Regions from separate parts of the Homo sapiens genome. Here region 1 is linked to region 2. Evidence: promoter capture Hi-C in 16 types of primary human blood cells and fetal thymus (Javierre and others, 2016). All regions are on one chromosome and are shown on one strand. Each heading gives the region's core, a stretch centred on a gene start or on the middle of the fragment in contact. The rest is flanking DNA. Distances are from core to core; before and after follow the strand shown.

The links. Contacts are between HindIII fragments. The CHiCAGO score rates a contact against its expected background, and 5 or more counts as called.
Region 1: the fragment with the promoter of CDKN2AIP here is called in contact with the fragment with the promoter of SPATA4 in region 2 in 1 of 17 cell types (total CD4 T cells); the score reaches 6.6 in total CD4 T cells.

The regions. Positions count from the first base shown.
Region 1 is chr4:183,440,087-183,446,261 of GRCh38, reverse strand. It overlaps CDKN2AIP (CDKN2A interacting protein), which reads right to left and starts at 1,626. Exons shown (of 3, transcript NM_017632.4): 1 at 1,193-1,626; 2 at 597-727; 3 at 1-174. The coding sequence starts at 1,464. RefSeq lists an enhancer at 1,172-1,321 and a silencer at 1,602-2,151. The HindIII fragment of the contact is 3,011 bases long and covers 1-2,902 here.
Region 2 is chr4:176,193,206-176,199,709 of GRCh38, reverse strand. SPATA4 (spermatogenesis associated 4) reads left to right here and starts at 4,125. Exons shown (of 6, transcript NM_144644.4): 1 at 4,125-4,365; 2 at 6,128-6,257. The coding sequence starts at 4,148. The HindIII fragment of the contact is 1,203 bases long and covers 3,433-4,635 here.

The DNA of each region.
Region 1 (6,175 bases), core at 377-2,876, 7.2 Mb before region 2:
TCCGAGCTGAGTTCCCACTCTCTGATTTGATGGCCGACCCTATACACGTTGAACTGTTTTCCTGCTGAGCTGATGCACGTTCTGTCTTGGCAGAGGTTTTTGCGTGATCTTGCTCAACTGCAGAACTGTTTTTTCCTTCTATAACTCGTTTTTTGGATGGCTCTTCTACCCCTTCTAAAAAGAAGAAAAACATAGATATGTGACTAAGAATACCTCGTACAAAACGGGTGATGAGACAAATACACATTAAAATAAAGGCACAAAGTGAAAACATTTCAAGACTAATCGTTTCTTTAAAAAGTGTGGAGTCATTAATTTCTTAAAACAGTGTTGAATAACATCATGAATGTCTAATATTAAAAAAATAACAGCATCAGACAACAGTGGACACTTCAAAATCTAAAGCAGTCAAAGCAAACTATCAAATTCAAAGCCTAAAGACACAGATATATACTTTAGGTTTAACATTCCAACTTTATTACTTATTAATAACATAAAAATTCTGGCTTGTTAAAAAAATTAGTAACAATAATTCCTAATTATATCAAACTTATGCTCTAAACTCCTATGTATGTTCACATCTATGATCTGCTAACCATTGCTACTCGATATCCCTCTTTTCTTCACCTTGGCAACCAGTTCATCTCTTGTTGTATAGGTTGGAGCATCTGTCACTTTGATGCCTTCAGCCATACTAAGTATTTTATCCATAACTTTTTGAGGGTATCTGAAAAAGAAGGAAAAGTCATTTTTAAAAAGTGTTTTTTCTAAGGTCCTACTTGTGCAAAAAACAGGCCACAGGGACTGCATTTCCTGGCTGCAATCAAGAAAGTGAACCAACCGCCAAGAACTGTTTCCTGGAACCCCATAAACAAGTGCCCCAGGGTCTGGGAGGCAGGGCACCTCCTCACTAATCTTAAATCTCGCACCCGTCCCCAAGAGCGTTGTTCCCTAACACAAGCAACCCTACCAGCAGCTGCGCCCACACCACCGGGCACACAGACGTCCGGGAATCATGTCGGCTCCTCGCAGGGACGCCCTTCTCCCCCTTAGAGGGCAGCCGGGCCGGCGGATTCCCGCGCTTCACAACTTCCCCTCCCCGCCGAGGCCGGTCCCGCGGAGGGCGCCGGGCCCCGGTCTGCAGGTGGCACACAAAACGAGGCGTGCTGGTTAGGGACGCTGCCTCACTCACCGGCACCCGAGGAAGACGTGGTTCGCCCAGGCCATGGAAAAGGAGATGAGCTGCTGCAGCTGCCGGTTTCGGGTCCCGCTCTCGGCGTCGGCAGCTTCATCCGTGCTAGCGGAGGCAGCGCCGCCAGCGGGGGCCAGGTCCCCGGCGTTGCGAAGCAAAAAATCCCGGCGGTGGCGCCAGTGTTTGTCAGTCTCGCCGTCGCAGCGCAGCGCCTCCACCCAGGCTGCCACCCGCGGGTTCTGGCTCAGGTACTCCGACACCTCCTGCGCCATGTTGGGCCTGCAGGCCGCGAACACAGCTGCACCGGGAGACAGGCAGGACTAGCGGGGCGAGCGGCCCTGTCACTGCGGCCTGCACCCGCGGCCCTCCAGATAACGCCCCTCCGCAGGCCTAAAGACCAAACAACAGCGCCCAGAGCCGCCGAACCGCCCACTTCCGCCCACCGCCGGCTTCTTCCCTTTTATAACCTCGCCGCCGCCGCGCGCCCTCGCGTTCTTCCGGCGCGAGCCGGCGCTCCCAAGACGCTTTGCGGCGCCGGGGCCGCTGCGACGCTGCGTCCCCGTGAGGCCACGGAGGGCACCCCGGGGGTGAGGTGGGCGGGCGTCGGGCGTCTCCCGCCCCACGAGGGCGGACTGCAAGTCGAGCTGGCCTGGGACGACCGAGTCTCGGCGGAACCCCGGGCGTTCTGTCCTCGCTTTGTGACGCCGCGCGCTCCTGCCGTCCTCCTCCCCCGCCGGGTCAGCTGCGGCGCCGGGAGCAGAGGCGAGAGGGGCAGGGCCCGGGCAAGGGAGGCAGCCGGGCGCGGCGGCCAAAGTCCGCTAGGGGGGCGTCCCGGGGGACCTTGAGCCGCCCGCAGCCGCGGGGCCTGTGGTCTCCGCCCTGAGACGCCTGTGTGTGAGCGGGGCCAAAACAAACAAAAGCCGGCCTCCATGTTAGAGTGTTGGGAGCTGCGTCTCGCGCTGCTTTCAGTGTGCCCGAGCGAAGCGTTCCGAGGCCGTCGGGGTCTCCGCGCCTTCAGGAGGGCGGGAGTGCCAGTCCCCTTACATAGCAGCAGTAGACAGTAAGGTCACACGAGGACCTGGCTCCGTGTTGCCGTGAGGCTTGCAGCCTTCGAAGCTGGCCCTGGCCCCGCAGCGGTAGGGCTTGTTCCCGCAGTTTATTAGGTCTCTAGTTAATCCAGGCATTGCCTTCCTGTTCTGGTCAGTAGGAAAACAACACCCCGACAACGCTCTGTCTCTAGAATTTCCTAAAATCAACAGCTTTACCACCAACCGGCAGATGTCCGGAGGTGGAGTGGAAATGTACCTATTTATCTATAGGGCCCCAAACCTCTCTCCCTGTTAGAGCTGTTTTTTCCTTCTATATATTTTTTTCCACTTTACATTTCCCACAGTTACGTACTCTAACTGCTGGCTGGCTTATTGTTACGTTTCCCATTCCAGGTATACATGCACTGTAAGATAAATACGTTAAATGATATAAATTATGAAATTTTTCTTTCAATAAATGTAGACTTTGATGTAAAAATGCATGAATCAGAATAAGCAAGCAAAAAAAGGTCACTTTAGGTAAGATCAGATAAGGTTAACTGTGTAATTTATGTGCATGCTGGAACAAAATACAGCTATTGTATGAAAACAATATTGCCCATTTTCCTGCCATACCAAAAGAAACTACATAAAAACGGAGGCACAAAGAAATTTTGAAGCTTTGTGATTTTGCTTCTAGTTTGCTGTTCTTTCCTCCTTTTCACAGATAATTGCTGAAAATCTAGAGGGGGTGGACGGATTGCAGAAATCTGGCTATTTAAAAGGTGGAGAAATTACGATTTCTCCTTTCATGAATTCTTTGGCAAGGGGACCATGGCAAGTAAAAGAAGCTATGATCGCATACCTAGATTATATATGTGCATTTTAAATCAAGAATGTTCTCACGGCCAGGTGCAGTGGCTCACGCCTGTAATCCCAGCACCTTGGGAGGCCGAGGCGGACGAATCATGAGGTCAGGAGTTCGAGACCAGCCTGGCCAATGTAGTGAAACCCCATCTCTACTAAAAATACAAAAGTTAGCCAAGTGTGGTGGCACGTGCCTGTAGTCCCAGCTACTCTGTAGGCCGAGGCGGGAGAATCGCTTGAACTCAGGAGGCAGAGGTTGCAGTGAGCCGAGACCAAGCCATTGCACTCCAGCCTGGGTGACAGAGTGAGACTTCATCTCAAAAAATAATAATAATAATGTTCTCACTTTTTTTCTTGTTGCCCTGTAGTCTTCTTCCCACTCATGGGCTTCATTGCCTTGAAAGGAGAACAAGTAGAGCCTGAATTTCAAACAATTTTTTTAATTATAATAAAAGCGATAGAGTCTGAAAGATGGAGTACTTGTGCAAAAACCAGGTGCTTGGAATAAAAGATACATGCATTTTTCTTTTTTGATTCTTAAAAAGTTGACTTTGCATATAAAGATTCAAAGACTATGAACCACAAGTAGCTGGGACTGCAGGCGGGTACCACGACGACAGGCTAATTTTTTATTTTTTTGTAGAAACAAGGTTTCACTGTTGTCCAGGCTGGTTTTGAACTCCTAATATCAAGCAATTCTTCTGCCTCGGCCTCTCAAAGTGCTGGGATTATAGGCATGAGTCGCTGTGCCCGGCCTCATTTTTTTTTAAAGACCCTCCCACCTACAGAGACAAATTCCTCTCTAAGCTGGGGGAGACGTTCTGAGAGAAAAGGTGAGAGGAGAATTTAGGTGATAACTAGGAAAGTCTATGGGAGTAGGGAATAAGATGCAGGGTGGGAAGTGTTGGCTGTTAGAAATTGCTAGGTAGATTTTGGGTCTAAGAGCAGAAGGACTTGGCTCTGCCCGAGTTTCTGAGAGAAGACAGCCCAATCGTGCCCTGAGCCTGTATGCGTTGGCCTTTAGAAATGAACATAGAAAGGGCCTTTTATAGCTTTGATAACCAACTATACAACTCCCTCCTCTGCTCCTAACACACGTGTGTATATATATATACATATGTGTGTGTGTATATATACATAACACACACACACGCATTTACGCACATATATCTCACAGGGCCTAGAGGAGATCCAAAAGGTTCCCAAGAAAGAGTTGAATGGTGAAGTGCCTACCAAGCACCAGGGTCCAAGGTGAATGAGGCTAGGGGTGGTCAGCTTGTCAGCAAAGGGAGATGCAGCTAGTTTTCAGCAAGTCATCAGACCAGTGCCCGTCAGGCCGCATCAATAGGAGAGGACCCTCAACCTCTCCTGAAATGATCAGTGTGCATTGCTTGTGCTGGTAGATCAAGCAGTTATACTCCCAGCAGAGCCCACAGGGAAGAAAGCACAAGACAATGCTAGGATGATAACCAAGCCTCACCCCACCACTGCCCTCACTAGAAATCTACTCAGAGGAGAAAAGGGAGAGAATTCTAATGAATTGAGAAAGATCCACTATCATCCCAAATTGAGTTTCAAACAAGTGACTGAGTTCACAGGATTAAATTTTCTGCTGTAAGTGGAAGCCCATTCACTGAAACTGGTTCTGTAGCATATCTCTCTGAAGACATCCAATAAAAATTCCAGCGGCAAGCTGGCTTTTCTGCAGATGGCTTTCCCATGGAGCAACATGAAGGGATTGCCCCTGTTCCTGGATGTGACTGTGGAAGCAAGAAAGCCTTTGGCAGGAAGGTCTGCATGTGGAGAGGCTTGTGAGGAGCAAATACTCCAGTTATGGCCAAGGTTATGACTTGATGTGAGAAATACTTCATGGTGAGGGGAAATATTTTATGCTAATGATGTGTGAGGACACAAATCTGCCAAATTACAGTGATAAGGTGGGATGTTCTGAAAAAGTAAGAGAATGTTTTAAGAGTGATCCCCTCTGTTAGAAGCTTTGAGAAATCAAGTAGGATGAAGATAGGTAGTAACAGTCTGATTACGGACTGGAGCCACCTGTGAGCTTGGCAAAAGCCGTTTTTACTGCAGTGATGAAGACTCCATATCAGAGTGAGTTCAGGAGTCGGAAATGGAGATATTTGGCTGTAAAGGGGAGAAGATAGAGGAAGCTGGACAGGGTCATGGGGTCAAGGTGGCTTCAATTTCAGATGGGAGTAGCCTGAGCATGTTGCCCACTGCTTGAAGGCAACTCACAGAAAAGGAGAGTTTGAGGATCTGAAGAAAAAGAGGGTAATTAGCAATTTCTGCAGACATAGGTGTGGCTGGGATCCACACACAGGTGGAGAGATTAACCTTAGGTGGGCAGACACTTCCTCTGTTTTAAAAGAAGACGTTTGTAAGTTTGGAGCTGAGACGTTGACATGGAGGCCATCTGATGGTGCAGAGAATGCTCGCAATGGATATTTTAGAGGGCAGAAGAGCAGGCTGCCTAGATGAACATAGTCTTTTTGGCCAATTTAAAATTACAGGCTGGGCGTGGTGGCTCACACCTGTAATCCTAACACTTTGGGAGGCCAAGGTGGGCAGATTACTTGAGCCCAGGGGTTCAAGGCCAGCCTAGTCTACATGGCAAGACCCTGTCTCTACAAAAAATACAAAACATAGTTGGGTGTGTTGGTACATACCTCTAGTTCCAGCTACTCAAGAGGCTAAGGTGGGAGGATCACTTGAGCCCACGAGGTCGAGGTTGCAGTGAGTTGTGATCGCACCGCTGCACTCCAGCCTGGGCGATAAAGGGAGACTGTCTCAAAAATTAAAATAAAATAAAAATATAATGTGTGCACACAAAAATGAAACATCTAAGTAGAAAAAAAGAGGCATAAATGAAAGCAAACAATCTCCCTCACTCAACCTGGTCCCACTCTGTGGACATCAGCATTCATGTCATTTCTATCTTGATTTCTTTGGGTGATTATTTTCATAACTCCAAATTAAATGCTTATACTTCCATTTCTTATTTTTTCAACTTTAAGCAGTACTTATTTCACTCCTGAATGTTGAAGCTGAGAAATCCATATCATTTACACTA
Region 2 (6,504 bases), core at 2,876-5,375:
TATCCTGCTGAGTCGACCTCATGAACAGGAAGAAGCAAGTTCCTTAGATACTTTAGAAAGATGCAGGTGAGCTAGTGGTAGAGAAAAACCTCACTCCAGGTACCAAGCAATATGTCATTCAGCATCCAATCAGGAAAACAGAACTAATTCCAGGTATTCAACAGCAAGAATTTTAACAGCTGATCCTTGAACAACATTAAGATTAGGGGGACCGACGTCCTGCATGGTAGAAAACCCAACTGTAGACTCCCCAAAGACATAACTATTAATAGCCTACTGTTGGAAGTCTTACCAATAACATAAACATCAATTAACACATATTTTGTGTGATATATATTATGTACTGTATTCTTACAATAAAGTAAGCTAGAGAAAAGAAAATGTTATTAAGAAAATCATAAAGAAGCGAAAATATATTAACTATTCATTAAGTGGAAGTGGATCGTCAGAAAGGTCTTCATCCTTGTCTTCACACTGAGTAGGCTGAGGAGACGGAGGAAGAGGAGGGATTGGTCCTGCTGTCTTGGGGTTGGCAGAGGTGGAAGAAAATCCACATATTAGTGGGCCCGTGCAGTTCCAAATCCTGTGGTTCAAACCTGCATCGGCTTTATAAGGAACTGGTGGTGTTGAAGAACCGAAAAACTAAAATGGGACCATCAAATTAACACAGAGCTAGACACTTCAGGAAGCAATTACCACCCCCAGGGAAGAAGTTGAAGTTATAAGAACGTAAGAGTTGGAGGCTTAAGAGCCTCAAGACTTAGACTTGAGGATGGGGCGTACACAGCTGGTGCTAATACTTCAGGAGCTCACATGAGCTGTCCGAGAGTAAAATTGGGTCTCAGACTTCCAAGGAGGGCCACTTCTTGGTGGTTGCTAAAACCTCGGAGAGAATATGATGAAACTTGCACCAGGAGTGCTAAACAAACAAACCAACCAACCAACCATACTGGAGACTGGAACCAATTGCCCCGGCCAGGTGAAGCTTTGTTGCCATGGTTACACAGGGGCTTGAACAGCAAGCAGAGAAATAGCAAATCCCTGCTCCCCACCTCCTGGCCACTCTCTCACTCCCCATATTGGCAGAATTTACCATCCACCCAGCAAAGGAGAAAATGCCGCAGCGTTCCAACTCCGGCATCACAGAACTGAGAACAGAGAAGGGAGTGTTTCTAACAGGGATGTATTTGCTTAACAATTGGCACACTGATTACAGGAAGATTTCCAACTCTTTAGCAAAACTGTTTACAATTAAGCCCCAATCTAGCTGGGCGTGGTGGCTCATGCCTGTAATTGCTGCACTTTGGAAGGCCAAGGCTGGAGGATTGATTCCTCAAGCCCACAAGTTCAAGACCCGTCTTTATAAAAAATTTAAAAACTGACCAATCATTGTGGTTTGCACCTGTAGTCCCAGCTACTTGGGAGGCTGAGATGAGAGGCTGGGGTGGGAGGTTCACTTGAGTCCAGGAGGTCAAGGCTGCAGTGAGCCCTGAGCACGCCACCGCACTCCAGCCTGCGCAACAGCATGACTCTGTCTCAAAAACAAAAACAAATAAACCCTAACCTATAGATCTAACCTACCTCTCTAGCCATTATCATCTAAACCTTTGGTTGACAATGTCTCTTTGGTTGATAATGCCTAAACACTTTCTCTAACCCTAATGGGTTCTGTTCTTTCCTAAAACTCATTTAAAAAACCCCTCATATTTCTATGCAATTGCTCCCATTAGTCACTCTGTGTGAGATTGCCCCTTCATCATCCAAATAAATTTCCAAGATCACCTTTGAAGCAATCATCTATGCTTACTGAGCACTACGTGCTGCACATTGTTTTAGGCTCTTTATAGATTTCACTTATTTAATCTCTACAGCTCTGTGGTGTATCCTATTTATTTCCATATTTTACAAATACAAATGTTAAATAACTTGCCCAAAGTCATATAGCTAATAAAAGGTAGTGTGAACCCAGAAACTCTGAGACAGGTCTCAGTTAATTTAGAAAGTTTATTTTGCCAAGGTTGAGGATGAGCACCCGTGACACAGCCTTAGGAGGTCCTGACATGTGCCCAAGGTGGTCAGGGCAGTTTGGTTTTATACATTTTAGGGAGACATGAGACTTCAGTCGACATGTGGAAGATGAACATTGATTTGGTCTGGAAAAGGTGGGACAACTAGAAGCAAAGGCAGGACAACTCAAGCAGGGAGGGGGCTTCCAGGTCATAGGTAGATGGGAGACAAATGGTTGCATTCTGTTGAGTTTCTGATGAGCCTTTCCAGAGTAGGCAATCAGGTATGCATTTAGCTCAGTGAGCTAAGCGGTGACTTTGAATAGAATAGGAGGCAGGTTTGCCCTAAGCAGTTCCCACTTTGACTTTTCCCTTTAGCTTAGTGATTTGGGGGAGGTGGGGGGGGTCCCAAGATTTAATTTCCTTTCACAGTAGAAATGGCTATTCAAAGCTTTCATCTTAAAAATCAGCTTAAAATACCACCTTCTAAGATCCAAATTAATGGTCATCTCTTTTGAGAGGACTTCTTACACTCTCCCAGGCCAAAGTATTTGCTTCCTTTCTGGTGCTAACATATTTTTACCATGGCAGAGCTTTTCAGTGTATGTAATCTTTTCACTGATATTTCTATCTCTGAATCTCTTATAAATGATCTGCCGCACAGAGCTGTCCAATCGAAATTCCTGTAGTGATGGAACAGTGCTGTGTCTGTCCTACCCAACATGGCAGCCACTAGCTACATATGGCTATTGAGCAGGTAAAATGTAGCCAGTGGAACTGAGTTTATTTAAATTTAAGTTTAAATAGCCACATGTGGCTAGTGGCTACCATATTGGATGGTAAAGATCTAGCACATACTCCAGGATAGTTCCTCAGAAAAGGTTTACAGAATGAATGAATCATTCATTAAAACTTTTTTAGCCTAACAGAAAACACTTACATAGCTTCAGTTTTGGTTTTCTTTTTTAACCACATACAGAATACACTGGTTTACTTTATTAATAAGCATGTATATGAATAAACATTAAAAATATTACATAGTATCATTATCAAGATCTATCCCATATTTTACCATGTGTATGTATCCACAGGGCCTGTCACCTGGCTCTCTGCAGCCTCAAGTTCCTGAGCTCAAGCAATCCTCCCACCTCAGCATCTGGAGTACTTGAGAGTACAGGTGTGCACCACCACACCCAGCTATTTTGTTTGTTTGTTTGTTTTGTAGCGAAAGTCTCTCCACCTTGTGTTGCCCAGGCTGGTCTTGAACTCCTGAGCTCAAACGATCCTCCCGCCTCCACCACCCAAAGTGCTGGGATTACAGGCATGACCCACTGTGCCCTGCCAAGCAAAAAAAAACAAAAAACAAAAAACAAAAAACAAAAAACTGTGGCTGTAAAAATTTTTAATGGATTTTAATAATTAAGCTTACATATTTATAATTGCCTATGCCAACTTTGCAGTTGTTTTCATTGTGTTCAGATAGATCCCAAGTGACTAGATGAATGCGTGGCACATAATATGGACTCAATACATATTTGTTGAATTAATGAAGGAATTATGCCTACTAGGAGATTTTAATTAAGTGTGAAAATCTAACCTACACATCGTTTTCAAATATTAATGTTTACAAATACTTAATGCAATAATTAAGGAAATAGTTATGTTAAATTTTGTGGACATTCATTTCCATTTCAAAGATTTTTTTCCCCCATCTCTTCCAATTCCCAAACAAAAACTGTCCTTGGCCTCTGGAGTCTTCTCACACCACTCCTCAAACTAGACGACTGAAAATAGGCCTTTGGCTGGGCAGAAACCAACAATATTTAAAATACAAAACTTATGAACGATGACATAAGAAAAAAAAAGCTCTAAATAGGTTAACAGTGAGGCCAACTAAATCTGAGACTGAAAGCGCTCCCCAGACCGCAGCCACACCACTGGGACCCCAGCTTTGCCTCCCTCGATACCCGGCCCCGCGGTCCAAAATCTGAGTAAAGCGGAAGTACGGGCGGCTGCTGCGGCGCTTGCGCAGGCGCTGAGGTCTCGCCCCATAAGACTCCGCCCCGCCCCACGAGACCGCGCCGCCAGCAATAAGGCCCAGCCCCGCCTTCTGCTGTTGCCGCAGCAACCCAGAAAGCGTCATGGCTGCCGCCGGCCAGGAAAAAGGGTATTTGACACAGACTGCGGCAGCCCTAGACAAGTCACCGTCACTTTCGCCACAGCTAGCAGCTCCCATCCGAGGGAGGCCTAAGAAGTGTCTGGTCTATCCGCATGCGCCGAAGAGCTCCCGCTTGTCTCGTTCCGTTCTGCGTTGGCTTCAGGGTCTGGATCTCAGCTTCTTCCCCAGGAACATCAACAGGTGCTTGAGTAAGCCAGTCCTAGGCCCCCCCGGTGGGCGCCCCGCCTGCTTTCCGCCGCCTGCCAGGCCTCAGATTGCCTACCCTGGCCTGGCTTATGTTTCAAATCAAGACCCCCCCACCCACGTACACACACGAAAACACTATTAGGGAACAAGGCTTTAACAAAATACCACGATACATCTTGTTTATTCAATTAATCAACCAATCATTAAATTGTGGACAATATAGAATGCTTTGGTGACTACAAAAATATTAAAATAGTCAAAGCTTTTTCTTTAGTGATATTGGGCATTAATACTGGTAAGGACGGCCGGGCACAGTTGCTCATGCCTGTAATCCCAGCATTTTGGGAGCCGAGGCAGGCGGATCACCTGAGGTCAGGAGTTGAGTAACAGCCTGACCAACACGGTGAAACCCCGTCTCTACTAAAAAATACAAAAAATTAGCCCAGTGTGGTGGCGGGTGCCTGTAATCCCAGCTACTGGGGAGGCTGCAGGCAGGAGAATGCTTGAACCCGGGAGGCGGAGGTTGCTGTGAGTCGAGATTATGCCGCTGCACTCCAGCCTAGGTGGCAGGGTAAGACTCTGTCTCAAAAAAAAAAAAAAAAAAAAAAAAAAAAAATACTGGTAAGGATCAGTTTACCCTTTGTCGGAGATGGCATCTAGTTTGAGAGTTACCAACAAGTTTTTAAAGTTGCTGCTTAATTGTAGGCACTTTGTATGTAACTGGCAGCTAATATTTGCTCTGGGAATGCAAACTAAATTCTATAAAAAGGCAATGAATCTTTTGCAGAACTCTGGTTTAAAGTAGTCTCTCCTTATCAGAGAGGCATAGGTTCCAAGATCCCCAGTGGATGGCAACTGTGGATACTACAGAACCCTCTGTCAGAACACATTTCTGTTTATGTCTTCCATCCACAAATTTAATGCCTTTTTAAAAATCTTAACTAAGCACTTATCACACACTGTGGCTGAAAGTTTTTCAGTTTGAGGTGTGATGCCGAAACTATCAAGAATTTCTTTTTCTTCATATTTCAGGAATATGATTCATTCCTACCATTGTAACCATTCTTACAACTTTCTATTAAGTCAAGAACTTTCATCTTTTCACCTAAAGGAATAATTTTATGGTTTCTCTCTGGCATATCTGAATCACCAGCATCACTGCTCTTGCACTTTGCACACAAGCGCACCACACTGTACAGTTGATCTGATGACTAAAAGGTGACTGATGTCTACAACGTGGAGACTCTGGACAAAGGGAGGACTCACATCCTAGGCAACACAGAGCAGGCAGGGAGGTTTCATCAGACTGCCCAGAACAGAGTACAATTTAAAAGTTACAAATTATTTCTTGAATTTTCCATTTAATATTTTCCGACTGTGATTGACCCAAGGTAACTGAAACTGCAGAAAGCAAAACTGCAGATAAGCGGGGGACTAGTTTACTAATTTGTCTTCAGTATTACTTACAACCATGCCTCTGAAATTTTAAAGTGCATATGAATCACCTGGGGATCTTCTTGAAATGCGGATTCAATACAAATTAACAGTTTGGGTTCATCAAAAGAACACCAAAGCCTTTGAAACGTAGATAATCTTAGCAAAATTCCACAGTAGGTTCTCCTTAGAGCAACGATCCAACAACACTCACTTTACAAGATACTTTTAGTATGGAATATTAGACTAGTATTAATTATAAAATAATACAAACTGCATAATTAACTACACTTTATTTCATTTCCTAATTGCCACGGATCAGAGATTTTTCAAATGGCTTCCTAATTGCAGAAATATTCTGTATATATTACCCCTGGGAACTTGAATTATCATCCTTTGAAAACGGGACCTCTTTAAAAGTCAAGTTGGATAACTGGGCACAGTTGGAGAAGGTACGTTAGCAGTCATTTACACTTTTAACTGTTAAGATGTTTGTTTTAAAGTGTGCCATGCTAATTTCCTGGATCTCTACGTGTATGTGTGTGACTGTGTGATACTGAGTTGGCAGCTTGTTCCTGTGTATTACAAAGTTTATTAAATTCCAACTGTTTATGTCATGAGTCACCTATGAAACTGAGCATAATTATTTCCATTAGCATGATATATACTGATTGGTTTTCCTGCTGAATATTATCTTTT